Regions from separate parts of the Homo sapiens genome. Here region 2 is linked to region 1. The links are contacts of gene promoters, found by promoter capture Hi-C in blood cells and fetal thymus (Javierre and others, 2016). All regions are on one chromosome and are shown on one strand. Each heading gives the region's core, a stretch centred on a gene start or on the middle of the fragment in contact. The rest is flanking DNA. Distances are from core to core; before and after follow the strand shown. Region 1 holds the start of MYO18B-AS1 (MYO18B antisense RNA 1). Region 2 overlaps SEZ6L (seizure related 6 homolog like).

The links. Contacts are between HindIII fragments. The CHiCAGO score rates a contact against its expected background, and 5 or more counts as called.
Region 2: a contact is called between a fragment that was not itself captured here and the fragment with the promoter of MYO18B-AS1 in region 1, in 1 of 17 cell types (M0 macrophages). The highest score is 5.1, in M0 macrophages.

What each region holds. Positions count from the first base shown.
Region 1 is chr22:25,896,002-25,903,198 of GRCh38, forward strand. MYO18B-AS1 (MYO18B antisense RNA 1) reads right to left here and starts at 3,935. Exons shown (of 3, transcript XR_938086.3): 1 at 3,715-3,935. MYO18B (myosin XVIIIB) reads left to right here. Exons shown (of 44, transcript NM_032608.7): 29 at 2,306-2,460; 30 at 6,612-6,735. The HindIII fragment of the contact is 4,296 bases long and covers 261-4,556 here.
Region 2 is chr22:26,308,001-26,315,190 of GRCh38, forward strand. SEZ6L (seizure related 6 homolog like) reads left to right here. Exons shown (of 17, transcript NM_021115.5): 7 at 2,670-2,836; 8 at 3,768-3,962; 9 at 5,764-5,902. Among named protein-coding and RNA genes, the nearest start is that of SEZ6L-AS1, 65 kb to the left of the region's middle. The HindIII fragment of the contact is 7,999 bases long and covers 1,172-7,190 here.

The sequences.
Region 1 (7,197 bases), core at 2,685-5,184:
GAGATTTAATTTTTTTAACATTCTGTTGACTTTGATGGGAGCCCTTTGATAACAGGGTCGTGGGTGTGTTCTGCTAGAAGAAACCCTTTTTCACTTTCTTTGGCAGCAGTCCTTGAGATAATGCTAAATTCTTGGTCTCAGATGTTTTGCGGCATGTAAAAATTGTCAATTGGATCTCTAAACCCACATGAGGCTTAGACCTGGGGTTTAAAATTCTTACGAGAGTACTTCTTGCCCCACCTAGATCCAGGGTGAAAGCAAGCTTTCTTACCACCTTCCAGGCCAGCAGGTGGAGCTTTTATTTTCTCTTCTCACTGAGGTGCATGCAGTTCTTTGAGGGGTTTGTCAATGCAACGGTCTTCATTCCAACTCTTCACCTTCCATGAGCCCAGAGCCTTGTCTCCTGTCTCTGTCTGGGCATTGAAACACAAACCTCTATCCTAAAGGACACTTCTGGATCTATCAACTGCTCTTCCCCCTCATCCTGGCCGCCATAATATTAGTATGTACCATTACTGTTAGGGCTTTGTGTCCTCTGCATTTCTGATATCCTGAAATTTCCTTCTTTCTTGAAGGTAACATTACAAATCTAATGCAATCTTATCTATATATAATATATTTTTATCTAGCCTTTCTAGATGAATGTACAGATAGTTTGGTCTCTCTGCTTGTCTTCTGTGGCCTCCAACTATCCCTCGTCTACATTCTAACCAGTTCACACTCTAACAAATGGTGTGCTAGTAAATGGCTCCCTGGAAAAAAACAAAAAGCCCTGATTTGTAGCACTTGCCAATTTCCCTGGTGTAAATACTCCCACCATGGCCAATTTCAAACTACCATTGTGATGTCACTAACATGGAATTTGAAAGGGATGCACAGAATTAGCTCTGTGCATCTCTTTCAAGTCGGTACCAGCTGACTCTGGCACACCACTGATTCCAGCCACACTCAGTTTTTTTTCTTCTCCTTCCAAAAATGCCTGATTCTTTCTCACCTCTGGGACTTTGCATGTGCTATTTCTTCTTCCCCGAGCAATCTTTCTTTTTCTCTCCTGCCTAGATATCTCCAACTATTCTTAAGATCTTAGCTTAAATGTCACTCTCTCCAGAAAGTCTTTGCTGACGCAGATTGGGTTGGGAGTCCCTGAGTTGTCTTCCAAAACATAGGCCTCATCATGTTGTATTGTAATTACCTACTCACTTCATAGTCTCTCCCATTCGATATCGGAGCCATAGGGTGGAGGTTATATTTGTGTATCTATTCTATTCTCAACGTGAGCAAAAAGTATCATGTGATTGCCTTGCAGAGGTGGGCCTGGGTGAGATCACATGGGATTTTATAAACAATGGAAGTGACTCTTGATATCCTCTATGCTGATGGTGATGATTTTAGTGGTCGCTTTCAAGGTGAACATTGCATCGTGGTCCTCAAGAGACATCTTGAACCATAGATAAACACAGATGGACAACTGCAGGAAAGCAGCCCAGTTCTTTAATAACAAATTATAAAGTTGAGTCAGTTTCCCTGATGAAGGGGGATATTTATGCTACATTAAAAAGTAATAAAACAGCAACCTTTTCTGAGCAGCAGAATATAAGAGAACATCCCATTTGCCTTCAAATACTGAATTTAGAATTACAGGCTTCATTAACTCAGAGTTTTGCTTATTTAAAGCAATTTTTTAATGAGGCCATTTCTTCAAAGCCAGTGTGCTGAGTTGCGTGCTCTTTCCCAGATCTAAACTAGGACATTTGGGAGAGTGTTTCCTGGAGGAAGATGCAAGAGTCTTGACTTTTGTTTGTTTAAGGCCGTGTGCATTCTGGTATTAATTCAGTCCATGCAAAGTGCCATTTGCTGCTTTAACCTTTAAGGCTTGTCACTTGGGATTCCGGGTCAGATTTTCTAGGTATGTCATTTTGGCTGCTCTGTGGCTAATCCTCACATATCCCTTCTGATCATGTCGGCTGGTGGGGATATGAGTTATCCGGTGGCTCAGGGGTCATCAAGTTGAGGCAGGGTAGGTAAAGTCTGTGGGTGCATTGGCTGGAGGTTTATTGAGCAAAAGTAAAATCAACCTTAAGAGATTGATGGAATTATCCCCACTTTACCTCTGAGCAAACTGAGGCTCAGAAAAGTAGCTTCCTGGAGGTGACCCTGGAGGAAGGTAGTCAAGACAGGGTCTCCCCATTCCAGCATCTGCTGTTTTCTCATTACACACCTTGGAAATAGCAACTCCTTGAAATACAAAGTAAAAAGCTCGTTCCATGCCCACAGAGCCGGGTAATTCATTCTATTACTCTTACAGCTTGGGGAGTTGCAAAGTGCTTATGACGGGGCCAAGAAGATGGCTCACCAACTGAAGAGGAAGTGCCACCATCTTACCTGTGACCTTGAGGATACCTGCGTCCTGCTAGAGAACCAACAAAGTCGAAACCATGAGCTGGAGAAGAAGCAGAAGAAGTGAGTTGCATCTCTCACCATCACCTGGGCTGCCAGGGTGGGCTACATTGGAGCTGGCGTTTTCTGGGGTATCCAGGTTCTCCTAACTCCCTCACTTCAACTCCCTTGTTTTGCTCTAATCTTCCTCCCTGTCCCGTCACACCTTATTCCTGTATGGTTCTCCCAAGAATCCAGCAAGAAATTATTCTTTTCTCTTAGCCAGCCTCAACTATGTGGCCAATTGATCTTGTGACCTTGGGGAACTTTCTTTGCCTTTCTGGGCCTTAACATCCCCATTTGTCGAGTGAAGGGTTTGTTGCAGACGGTCAAGACAGCATGGCGATTAGGAGCCCAGGCATTGATATAAAAGTCATCTCATTCAAGTCCTAAAGGTGCCTCTTTCTAGATGTGTGACCTTGAGCAGGTCATTCAGTCCTTCCCAGCCAGATTCCTTATCCGTAGGTTGGTGATAAGATCGCCCCCTTGTGCTGAGGACTAAATGATGCAGTCAGTACATCTAAGTGGACTGATCCTGGTTCCTCTTCCTGTTGGTGAAAATTGGGCTAGAGAATAAGGAGGAGGCCAAAATATGGCCTTCTCATTTAGGACTTGGACTCTCAGATCACGTGAGCCATTCTGGCAGAGACTGGGCCTTGTGCACCAGCAAGATGCTAATCTTGAATCTGCACGGTGTGGTTCCCATATTTGCATTCCCTTTGGGTTGCTGTTACAGTGAGGCGATGGTGGAGCCTGGATTTGTACCCAGATTCGCACACTCATAGGCTTCTTCATGCAAAACCTCAGAACCTGTGATGCTTGGACGCCTTGGCTGTGTCTAAAGTTCTCCAGCTCACTCGGTGAGGGGAAAGGTATACAGGGGTCCTGTTTTGAGCCAGCCAAGTCCTAATGGAGATGTCATACTAGGCAAATAGGTGGGAAGCAGCCTCTTTTAGAAGGCCCATGATAAAATACAGAAAAATGTTCCTGTGTGAGCCAAGATGTGAATTTGTGGAAACTGCCTCCTTTCCAAGAAGTAGGAAGGAGAATTATATTTCCATGGAGGTGGCATAGATTTTGAACTTGATCTGCATTAAATATTATTTATCTTATTTATCCTACAGCTTTCCTGAGCTGGCTTCTTCATCTGACAAAGGTCTTTGGGGGATTGTTAGCGTGCTCTGCATCCCCAAAATAAGAAAGATTTATTTTTTGTTTATTGATATCTCACTCTGTTCCCCTTTCCACCTCCCTGTGGGTGCTCTGGCTGAACCTTACCCCTGCAGTGGGGAAAATGGCTTGGCTCCATCTTGGCCACCTGCTGTGTGTCCTTGGCAAATAACACCACCTCTCTGGGCCAGAGAGTGACTGATGGTTCAGATGGTGCAGAAGTCTCAGTTTAACAGGTCATCTGATCTGGAAGAATGGCTCTGACATATACCCCTGTCTGTGAAACAAGAGGTTGGGACTCCATCATTCCCCAAGTTTCTCCCAGCTGTGACCCTCTTGGCCCCCAACTATGGGTTCTACTCCTGTTCTGAGAGGCCTAACTGAGGGTTTCAACTCTCTGATGAGTAAGGGGCCAGCCTCTGGAGTTTGTGCAGCCAGAAAATTCCATCTGTCTGGTCTTTCCTTTTCCCTTTGGACAGAATCCCTCATTCCAGGCACTTATGAATCTCCCCAGGATACCCCCCAAGCAAAGTTCCTATTTCTTCATATTTGCATGCCCTCCTCTCAAAACTTAGCTTTCTTGTGATGCCCTCTGCTCTGTTACCATCTCTAGGCAGAAGCTAATTTATGTTTTGATGCCAATTGCAGATAGCAGGCATTACCTTTCCAGGTAGATTAGCATTTTATGTCTCAGTCTAACTGTGGAAGTTCAGGCAGAATGACTATGGTGAAGGGAAAATTTAGAAGTCAGTAATACTTCCTTGCATCTCTCGATGCTTAATCGAAATGTAGATGCAGCTGCCTCCTGAGTTTGCTGGGCCCAGGATAGAGTGATGCCTCCACATTGGTAGAGTTCTCTGTTTCCCGCTTTGGCTTCTAAGTTCAGAGTGGCCTGGGATGGTTTCATTTTGGTTGGATTGTTTGTGGCATGATTACCCTATGGGTCACAAAGCTTGGTTCTGAGGGCTGATGAAATTCCGGGTAAGCCCTGTGCTAGACTCACTGATTCCCACACTCAAGGGTGGCTGGACCCAAGGCCCTTTCTTAACAGATTGAAGGTTGTGTGCAAACCTATCTGGCCTCAGGCAATTGGCTGGTCAGTGTGGGCTGTTTGCTAGGAGCTGGTGTTTGTAGTAGCTATTCTTTGGCATCAAGTGGCCTGTTAAGTCAAGGACTCCTCTGCACCATCAGTTACTGTCTGGTCCCTACTGTCTTACCTCACCTGTCCCAGGAATGGACAGGTAGATGGGGGACTAGCTAAGACATTAGGGAAGCCCAAGTCCATTTCTACCACTTTGGAATTTGGGGCTGAATCACTCCTCCTCTCCGAGTGATTTCAGTTTCCTCCTCAGTGAATGGATCGAATAACATGTTTCTTGCTGAACTGTTGTAAGGACGACATGGATCCCAGCCCAGGACCTGACACACTGGGACTGCTGGATCATCACCCTCATCACAATGCTTCCATTCAGAGGCAGCAAATAGTGCCCCTTGAATGATGTCACCAACAGCCAATCAGAAAGCTCCTGAGCTGTTCCAACAGGAGGGCTCCATTATGATTGGGTCTCTCAGAAGTCTGAGACTTTGAATGATAGTCTAGTATTAAGGAACACTGGATAGTCTTATAATAAGCGAGACTTTCTTGCCACCAAAGGCCAAACCCCATGCCCACTTCTGCCATATCAAGATCTCTGGAACAATGGGACTTCCTGTTTGGGCCAAGGGGAAGTGACTGAAAGTCACACCTTACTGAGGCTTGGCAAAGCCTTCTCTATCGGTTTCCTCACCTGTGATACTGCCAGGAGGCTGAGACAACTGAACAGAGTGACATAACATCCAGGAGGGGCTTCTCACCCAGTGGTCATCACAGAAGGGCAGGAGGGCCCCTAACAAGGCATTAATTCCCTGGATGACTTTCAGTAGGACTGACTAGTCTTTGTGTTTTCTGCTTGAGAAACAAATGAGGACAAGAATGTATAAATGTCCATCATTTTATTGATAATCAGCATGCTTTAGTATGGCATATGAGAGTATAAGCCAGACAATATGTTAAAATATGAAATGTAGAATATCCTCATTCTACTTACATCCATTCGTTTGTTCATTGGTCAGGAAATATTGGAAGTCAAATGGGGCCTGGTAGATTTAAGGGGCCTTGACATATGCTGGCAGACCAGATAGATCAGGTTTTTGGGTTGGTTTTTTTTTTTTTTTTTTTTTTTTGAGACAAGGTCTTGCTCTGTCACCCAGACTGGAGTGCAGTGGCACAATCATGGCTCACTGCAGCCTTGGCCTCCTGGGCTCAAGGGATCCTCCCACCTCAGCCTCCAGAGTAGCTGGGATTACAAGTGCATGCCACGATGCCCAGGTAATTTTAAATTTTAAATTTTTAAAGTTTAAAAATTTTAAAAATAGAGATGGGGTCTCACTTTGTTGACCAGGCTGGTCTTTAACTCCTGGCCCCAAGTGATCCTCCTTCCTCGGCCTCTCAAAGTGTTGGGATTACAGGCGTGAGCCACCATGCCTGGCCACCTTTAAAATATATCCTTTATTCTATATCTGTATATAGTTTTATTCTATTTTTATTCCTGTCCATATATTTTTATTAGATTTTAGGGTTAGCATTTAGATTAGCATTTTAGTAGGGAGATGATGGGGGCAGCAGAAGTCTCAGTCTAACAGTGGAAATTCAGGCAGAATGACTATGGTGAGGGAGAAATCTAGAATTATAAGTATATCGAATAGTTCTGTGGCAAGTCTACCTCAACCCTAAAAATTGCTCTGTGGTTTTTCAGATTCCCACCCTACATCCACAGCCTTACGTAAAAGCATTGAGAAAAACTTCCAACTTCTCATACTTTCTCTATCTCTCTTCTTCCTTTTGCTCTCTTTCTAATGGTTCTTGGGAAACTAGCGGCCTCTCTGCAGCCCCTCCCTGCCCCTGCCTCAATCACTCCCCTGCCCACCTGCCTACGGGGCCCTGACACGTGCTCTGCTTTGCACAGGTTTGACCTGCAGCTGGCCCAGGCCCTAGGTGAGTCAGTGTTTGAGAAGGGTCTCCGTGAGAAAGTGACCCAGGAGAACACCAGTGTCCGGTGGGAGCTAGGCCAGCTTCAGCAGCAGCTGAAGGTAAGGGATGGGGGACACAGAGCTATCTTGGCTCTTGGTGGCTAAATCTCGGGAAACTGCATCGTGCACCTGCTGCAAATGGTGACAGAGAGAAAACTTCACAAGGGTATCCTGGTCTGTCAAGCAGCTGAATCCCAGTGTGTCTTAATAAAATAGCAAATGGTGGCTGGTAAATTGATAATCAGACTTTGAGCAAGATTGATGTCTTGATCTTGCTTCAGTTACCTGCACAGGTTCCGAGGTGCTTACCTGGGAGGTATAACAGGCTCAGCAGAGAATGAGTTAGCTATAACCTTGTCCAGGAGCAATGTCCTGGTCCAAGCAGGCTCCAATGCAGAGAGATTTTACTAAAATACAACACGGGTGCCTCACTCAGCTGCTCCTCATCCTTTTGTGGTTCTCTACTACTCGCAGGAGAACCTCTGAGCGCTTTAGCCTGGCGTTCAACTCCTTCACGATCTG
Region 2 (7,190 bases), core at 3,921-6,420, 410 kb after region 1:
GGAAGAGAAGTTTGTAGAGTTCATCAAGGTTAAAGGTCAACACACACACAAAAATGATGAAGACACTACTCTCTGGGCCAAGAAGAAAAGAGAAATCAATTATGTCTGTCCCATGTACTTTATTGAGGGGGAAATGGCTAAAATACCACAATATGTCAGTTGCAAGAACTCAGAGCTAGATAAGACTCTACATAAGAAATGGGACTTTGACCTAAAGTCAAAATGGAAGGAGATTGGATAATGGATCCAAAAATACAGAGGGAGGGGTATTCCAAGCATGGAGAATTGGAGGATGAGCACAAAGATGGAGGGGAAAGAATTAGCAAATTTGTTGGGGGGCTGCAGCAGAAGCTCTCATGAGAACAGGAGGAAAGAGATCTGGGAAGCTAGATTGGGGTTATATCCTGAAGGATTTTGAATGCCAGGCTACTTTTATAGGCAATAGAGAGCCTATAAAAGTCTTTTTAGTCGAGGAGGGACATGAATAAAGATTTTAAGATGATTTTCCTCAAAATGAACCCTTTCTAAACTCCAGTCTCATAATATGCCCCCAAAAAAGTGAGTTCTCTGGTCAAACATGTTTGGGAGACACTGCGCCCACCCTATCCTTGCCTTGAAAGGTCGTAATATGTACTAGCTAACAAAGGCACTGATAAGTCCTGCAGGGAAAAAAAAGTTTAATTTTTATTTAATTCAGCATTTTGCAAATCCATTTGACCATAGACTATTAAGAATTTGAGAGAAAATGTATTACTATTGCAGACATTCTAGAAAATATGGTTAGAAAATTGTTGGTTTTAAAAGATTAATAGACTACAGAGATTTTGAGATCTTGAAGCTTTCCTCCAGAGCAACCCTCTTTGCCAAAGGCTTCTGTTCTTTGAAAGAGGTGTCCCAACACACAGCCCCTAAGATATAACAGAGTCATCAGGAATCAGAAGACTATGTAGATGCCCCTTCCCACTCCTGGAATGCCCCCTGGACTCTACCACAGCCCCCATCCTTGCCTCAGCCATACTGGACACATGGCAAAATAAACAAACTGTGGCTGCAACATTTATACATCTTAGTGACATTAGAAATTCATCTGGGCAGCATAAAATAAACTATTTTTATGAGTCAGTAAAAACCTCAAAGGCTTAAAAATGTGTGTTTATGACTCCATAAAAGAAGCTTATCTAATTTGTATATGGTTTTCTTCACCATTTTTGCATAATTTCTTTAAAAAACCAAGGCTAGCAAGAAGTCAACTTCAAATAGCTTTAATAACAATAAAAATAAATACCCAACATTTTGTTTAACACATTTTATTTTTCAGGGCACTTTTTATTTTGCAATATTCTCAAAGCCCACCTGTAAGATGGGTCAGAACGACGTTATGGTTGGGTCTCTCCTTTCACAGTTGAGGACACTGAGGCTGAAAGGTGTTTTAAGACTTAATGTAAATCCAGATGGGGAATTGAGAAATGGGAATTATGACTCTTGACTTCCCACACAGTGCTCTTAGAAAATGGGGATCAGAGACAGAGCCTGGTGGGAGTCAAATGCTTAATAAACAAAACTTACCTACCGTGTCCTGTTAACTATTTTTTTTTTAAGACCGAGTCTTGCTCTGTCACCCAAGCTGGAGTGCAGTGGCTCGATCTCGGCTCACTGCAATCTCTGGCTTCCAGGTTCAAGCAATTCTCCTGCCTCAGCCTCCAGAGTAGCAGGGACTATAGGCACGCGCCACCATATCTGTCTGATTTTTGTATTTTTAGTAGAGACGGGGTTTCACCATGTTGGCCAGGCTACTATCTAACTCCTGACCTCAGGTGATCCACCCACCTTGGCCTCCCAAACTGCTGAGATTATAGACTTGAGCCACCATGCCCCACACTCTGATATAGGTGCAATTGTACCCATTTTACAGATGAGAAAACAGAGGCTCAGAGAAGTGAAGTGTTCTTGTGCAAAGTCACACAGCTGAGAAGTGACAGAGTCAGGACTCACACCCAGGTCTGCCTGACTTTACAAAAGCCACCATTTAGGCAATGAGATTAGTCCATTATTTCCAACTTCTCAGTTAATAATAATAGTCAACATCAATTCATTAGTTCGTCGTTTGGTTTATTACATCATATACATTACTCTCCCTACAACCTCAGAATAAATCCATAAGGAAGCCAGGACAGGCATTTAGTCCCATTGTACAGAAGAGGAAACAGGTTCGATAAGGTGATGCTTGTCTGAGCACATAAGAGGTAAAGTCAGGACTGGGCGTGGTGGCTCACGCCTGTAATCCCAGCACTTTGGGAGGCCAAGGCGGGTGGATCACCTGAGGTCAGGAGTTCGAGACCAGCCTGGCCAACATGGTGAAACCCCATCTCTACTAAAAGTACAAAAATGTGCTGGGCATGGTGGGACACACCTGTAATCTCAGCTACTCGGGAGGCTGAGGCAGGAGAATCACTTGAACCTGGGAGGCGGAGGTTGCAGTGAGCCAAGATCGCACCATTGAACTCCAGGCTGGGCAACAAGAGTGAAACTCTGTCAAAAAAAAAGAGGCAGAGTTAGGTTTGGGATCCGGTAATGAGGCTCCAGAGGCAGTCGTAGCACATCCCTTCCTCTGCCATGTCAGTGACCCAGGAAGATCTGTCAGTGTCCCTCCTCTCTGCTCCCACTGCCAGGATGACGGTTCACAGCGGGCAGACCAACAAGTCAGCTCTTCTCTACGACTCCCTTCAAACCGAGAGTGTCCCTTTTGAGGGCCTGCTGAGCGAAGGCAACACCATCCGCATCGAGTTCACGTCCGACCAGGCCCGGGCGGCCTCCACCTTCAACATCCGATTTGAAGGTGAGGGTCCCTGGGAGCTTCCCTTTCTCTTGTGGGGCTGGGGGTAGCCTGGGAGCAGGGAAAGCATGGGGAGATAGAAATCTGGGCTGCGAAGGATGTGGGAAATCCCATGGCCATGTGGATCCTTTGGTTTCCAAAGACAGGCTCTTGGTTTCATTAATAATAACAATGCCTATCATTAACTGTGCACTTACTACGTGCTCAGTGCCTTCTGTGCACTGTCTGATTGGATTTCAGCTTCTGCATCATGTTTGATCCTCATCACACTGAAACATTAGAACTGTTATTCTATCTGATTTTTGGTGAGGAAACTGAGGTTTAAGACACTTGGGTGACCGGCCCAAGACCACCAGTGAACAAGGGTGGAGTTAAGATTTCTGTCCATCCTGTGCTGGGGAGCCCTGAAGCTCTGCTCCACTCCACCTAGTAGACCTCTTAGAATTTAGCCACTTCTTCCTCCAAGAAGAATTTAGCAAGAGCCTCTCCTGCTGAGACCCTGACTCTTGAAGAAGGGGTTCGCTGGGCATTTCATGTACGCTGGGGGACTTTCTGTTCTGGCTTTGCCAAGAAAAGCTGGCTTTTATCATAGACAGCCCTACAGTTTCCAGTGGCAAAAAGTCAGGGCTCTGAAGTTACGGGCCATGGGAAGGATCCATATAGGATGTGGAAAGGCATTAAAACACAACAACTCCACAGGGTGGAGAAGACAGAGATTCTTACTCCTATTTTAGATTTTTTTAAATGAGGTCCCAAGGAGTCAACTGGGTGGCCCCAGGGTTCTCAACACGTCAGCTGGAACCAGGACACGTAATTTGGTACCTGTTTTCTTTGGGGCTTTTCTAAACAGCACAGGGGACCCATCTTCTGAAATATAGCACCGTGGGGTAGTCCCTGCATCATCTGAACTGCTGCCTCTCTTTCCCTTCCTCAGCGTTTGAGAAAGGCCACTGCTATGAGCCCTACATCCAGAATGGGAACTTCACTACATCCGACCCGACCTATAACATTGGGACTATAGTGGAGTTCACCTGCGACCCCGGCCACTCCCTGGAGCAGGGCCCGGCCATCATCGAATGCATCAATGTGCGGGACCCATACTGGAATGACACAGAGCCCCTGTGCAGAGGTGAGCGGATCCACAACGCTCTTCCCACGGCACCCCAGGGATCTCCACCCTTTGGATGAGAAGACCAAGGCCCCAGCTTAGAGGCCTGTCCCCAGTTTTCATACCAACTTTAGGATTAGAACCCTTTCCAGGGTTCACTGTCCTTTGGTTCAGGGTTGCTGCTGGTCTTGAGAAAATTACAAAATGGGTGAATTTTAGAAGGTGCACCTTCTTCCAGGCATAGGTCCCACAGTGCACAGCTTAGTGAGCTGAATACTGCATGGATTTCAGCTCCTAAATACTCCCTCTGCTACGCATGCTTGTGCAGTGCACAACCCACGCAATAACCTCATTAATAAGAACAATAATAGTTCTTAATTGGTGTGTAATAATTATGCTACCAGCACTTTGCTAAGAGTGTGTGTGCATTATCTGATTTCAACCTCACCATAGCCTTATAAAGTAGATTGTATCGGCCCCATTTGTAGGTGAGAAACTAATGCTGTGAAGTGACCTGCCTAAGAACACACAAGGGGAATTGGCAGGGACAGGAATGGAACTCATGTCTCTTTGTTCTCAGAGCACTGTGCTCTGAGCCCCACTGGACAGTGTTGTAGAACCCTCATCTACACAGGCTGCAGTGGACTGTCCTGCCAGTTTCCCCATATTCTTTTTGTTGTTGAGACAGAGACTCGCTCGGCTCACTGCAGCCTCCGCTTCCCGGGTTCAAGCGATTCTCCTGTCTCAGCCTCCTGAGTAGCTGGGACTACAGGCGTGTGCCACCACAGCCGGCTAATTTTGTATTTTTAGTAGAAACGGGGTTTCACCATATCAGCCAGGCTGGTCTCGAACTCCTGACCTCAAGTGATCCACCCACCTTGGCCTCCCAAAGTGCTGGCATTACAGGCATGAGCCATCGCACCTGGCCCGTTTCCCCATATTCAAGGCTGCTGAGCCACCCTGAGCCTGGGTCTCCTGCTGGCATGTGGAGTAATGAAAGGTGCCCTCACTCCTGGCAGCCACCGCCTCAATGGCAGTTGGTGTGAAATCACAGCCTTGCCATGGTGAGGGATTGATCCCTATATTAAATGTGCCGATTTAACAGAGCGGAATTTATTGGTGCTTTGGCCTCTGCCATGTTGAGACCTTTCCAAAGTGGTAAACACAGAGTAGAATTTAAAGGGCACCTGCCGCAGCCACATCTCTGCTTCCAGTTCAGGGCCGGGACCTGTCATAGCAACATTATCTAAATTATCGAGCAGCTACCATGTGCCAGACACTGTGCAGCATGTTTGACATTCATGAGCTTAAGCCTCAAAATAACCCAATGAGGTTGGCAGTGGTATTGCCCCCATTTTGTAGAGAAAGGGAGCTGAGGCTCTGGGAAATTACATACCTCCTCCTACAGCCTGTTAGCAGCAGAGGCAAGATTGGGACCCCGGGACCACCTAACTTGAGTGGGCGGTCTCTTAGCCACTACTCACCCCGCAAAAGAGCAGAGGCTGTTGAGGAGTCATTCTGACCACTGAGCTCTGTCCTTGGTCTTGAAAGAGCAATAGCACCTCTTAGCCCAACTTTTACCAACCCTCAGGTGCAAGGTAGGCAGCTGGCCAGCTCTCATTTAATCATTACACACACACACACACACACACACACACACACGCACACACACACACGTGCTGGCTGCCCGAGGTGAAGACACCTGTCCACAGTACACAGAGATTCACGGCTGTCTGACTTCATAGCCCACATGGTTAGCCGCTATGCCACATTGACTTCTTTACAAATAAAGTCCGTCTTCTTGCCTGTCTGTCTTTTACAGCCATGTGTGGTGGGGAGCTCTCTGCTGTGGCTGGGGTGGTATTGTCCCCAAACTGGCCCGAGCCCTACGTGGAAGGTGAAGATTGTATCTGGAAGATCCACGTGGGAGAAGAGAAACGGATCTTCTTAGATATCCAGTTGTGAGTGTTTAAAATGGGTGGCCCTCTAATTTGGCAAAATTTGGGAGATTGAGAAAGAAATTGCTCCTGCTTTATTCTTTCAACCAATATTAACTAAGCATCTACTATGTGCCGGGACTATGCAGAGAACAGGCATTCCCATAGTGAGACCAAGAACAGCATCACAAATACACACACACACACACACACACACAGAGAGAGAGAGAGAGGAGAGAGAGAGAGAGTCCCTATCTTTGGGAAATTCAGCCTAGGAAACAAATATGAAATGAGGACATACACAAATAATTGCATACTCTAACTTCAATATGTGATGTAAGGAGAGGTTAATGGTGCTATGAGATTCTTTAACTGGAATTTGATATAAAAAGGAAGGTCAGAGAAGTCTTCCCCGAGGATCTGATACTAAAGCTCAGAACTAAAAGATGAGTTGGAGTGATGCATCCCAAATGAACAGAATGTGCAAAGGCCCTGTGGCAAGCATCTCATTTTCAAAGGACCAAATGGCCAGTGTGGCCAGCAAGAAGGGGGCACTGTAACACCCATTTACTGGACTACAGTTGTTTATTTTCCTGTTTGTCTCCCTCAACTAGACCAGAAGGTCCTCTCCTCTGGGGCTGGGTCTGACTACCCTCTGTTTCCACAGTCTAACGCAGAGTCTGATACACAGTAGATGCTCAGGAAATGATTGCTGAATGAAAAAAAATGTTTTTAATGAACGGACTTACTTAGCTGTGCGGCTGGGTTTCCTGTATTCACAGGGGGTAACCATTAGATTCTCCATCCAGAATGTTCCCCGCTAGCTCCCCAAGAGGGTGACACTTGCAGGGAAGCAGCTACTCTGGGCCAGATGCAAAAGTGACTGCTCTAAGCATTTCTATCTTAGGTAATTCTCACAGAGAACCCCCCCTGGGAGGTCATTAACCCCACTGTCTGAGAAGGCAGCAGAGGTGCAGGGAGGCCACCCAGAAAGCCAGCGAGCAGCGGGGCTGAAATTCAGGCTTCTGTGGCTTCTCAGTCATGCTCTTTCCACTGCCCCATGTGAGATGGGGGTGAGAAGTGGACAAAGACAGACGGTGGTGCCTGGAGAAAGCAGAATACAGGGTTCCTGACAGACCCAGGTGGCAGACGGGAGGGTGGTTGGGGGCGGAGAGAGTGCTGAAACCCAGCAGCCTGGGGAAGCAGCACTCACAGTTCTCTGGCTCTACAGAGGAACCTTGCAAGAGAAAGAGAAATTATTTTCAAATTATTAGTGACCGGCTTTTGAGGCTGTTCCTTAGACACAGCAAGT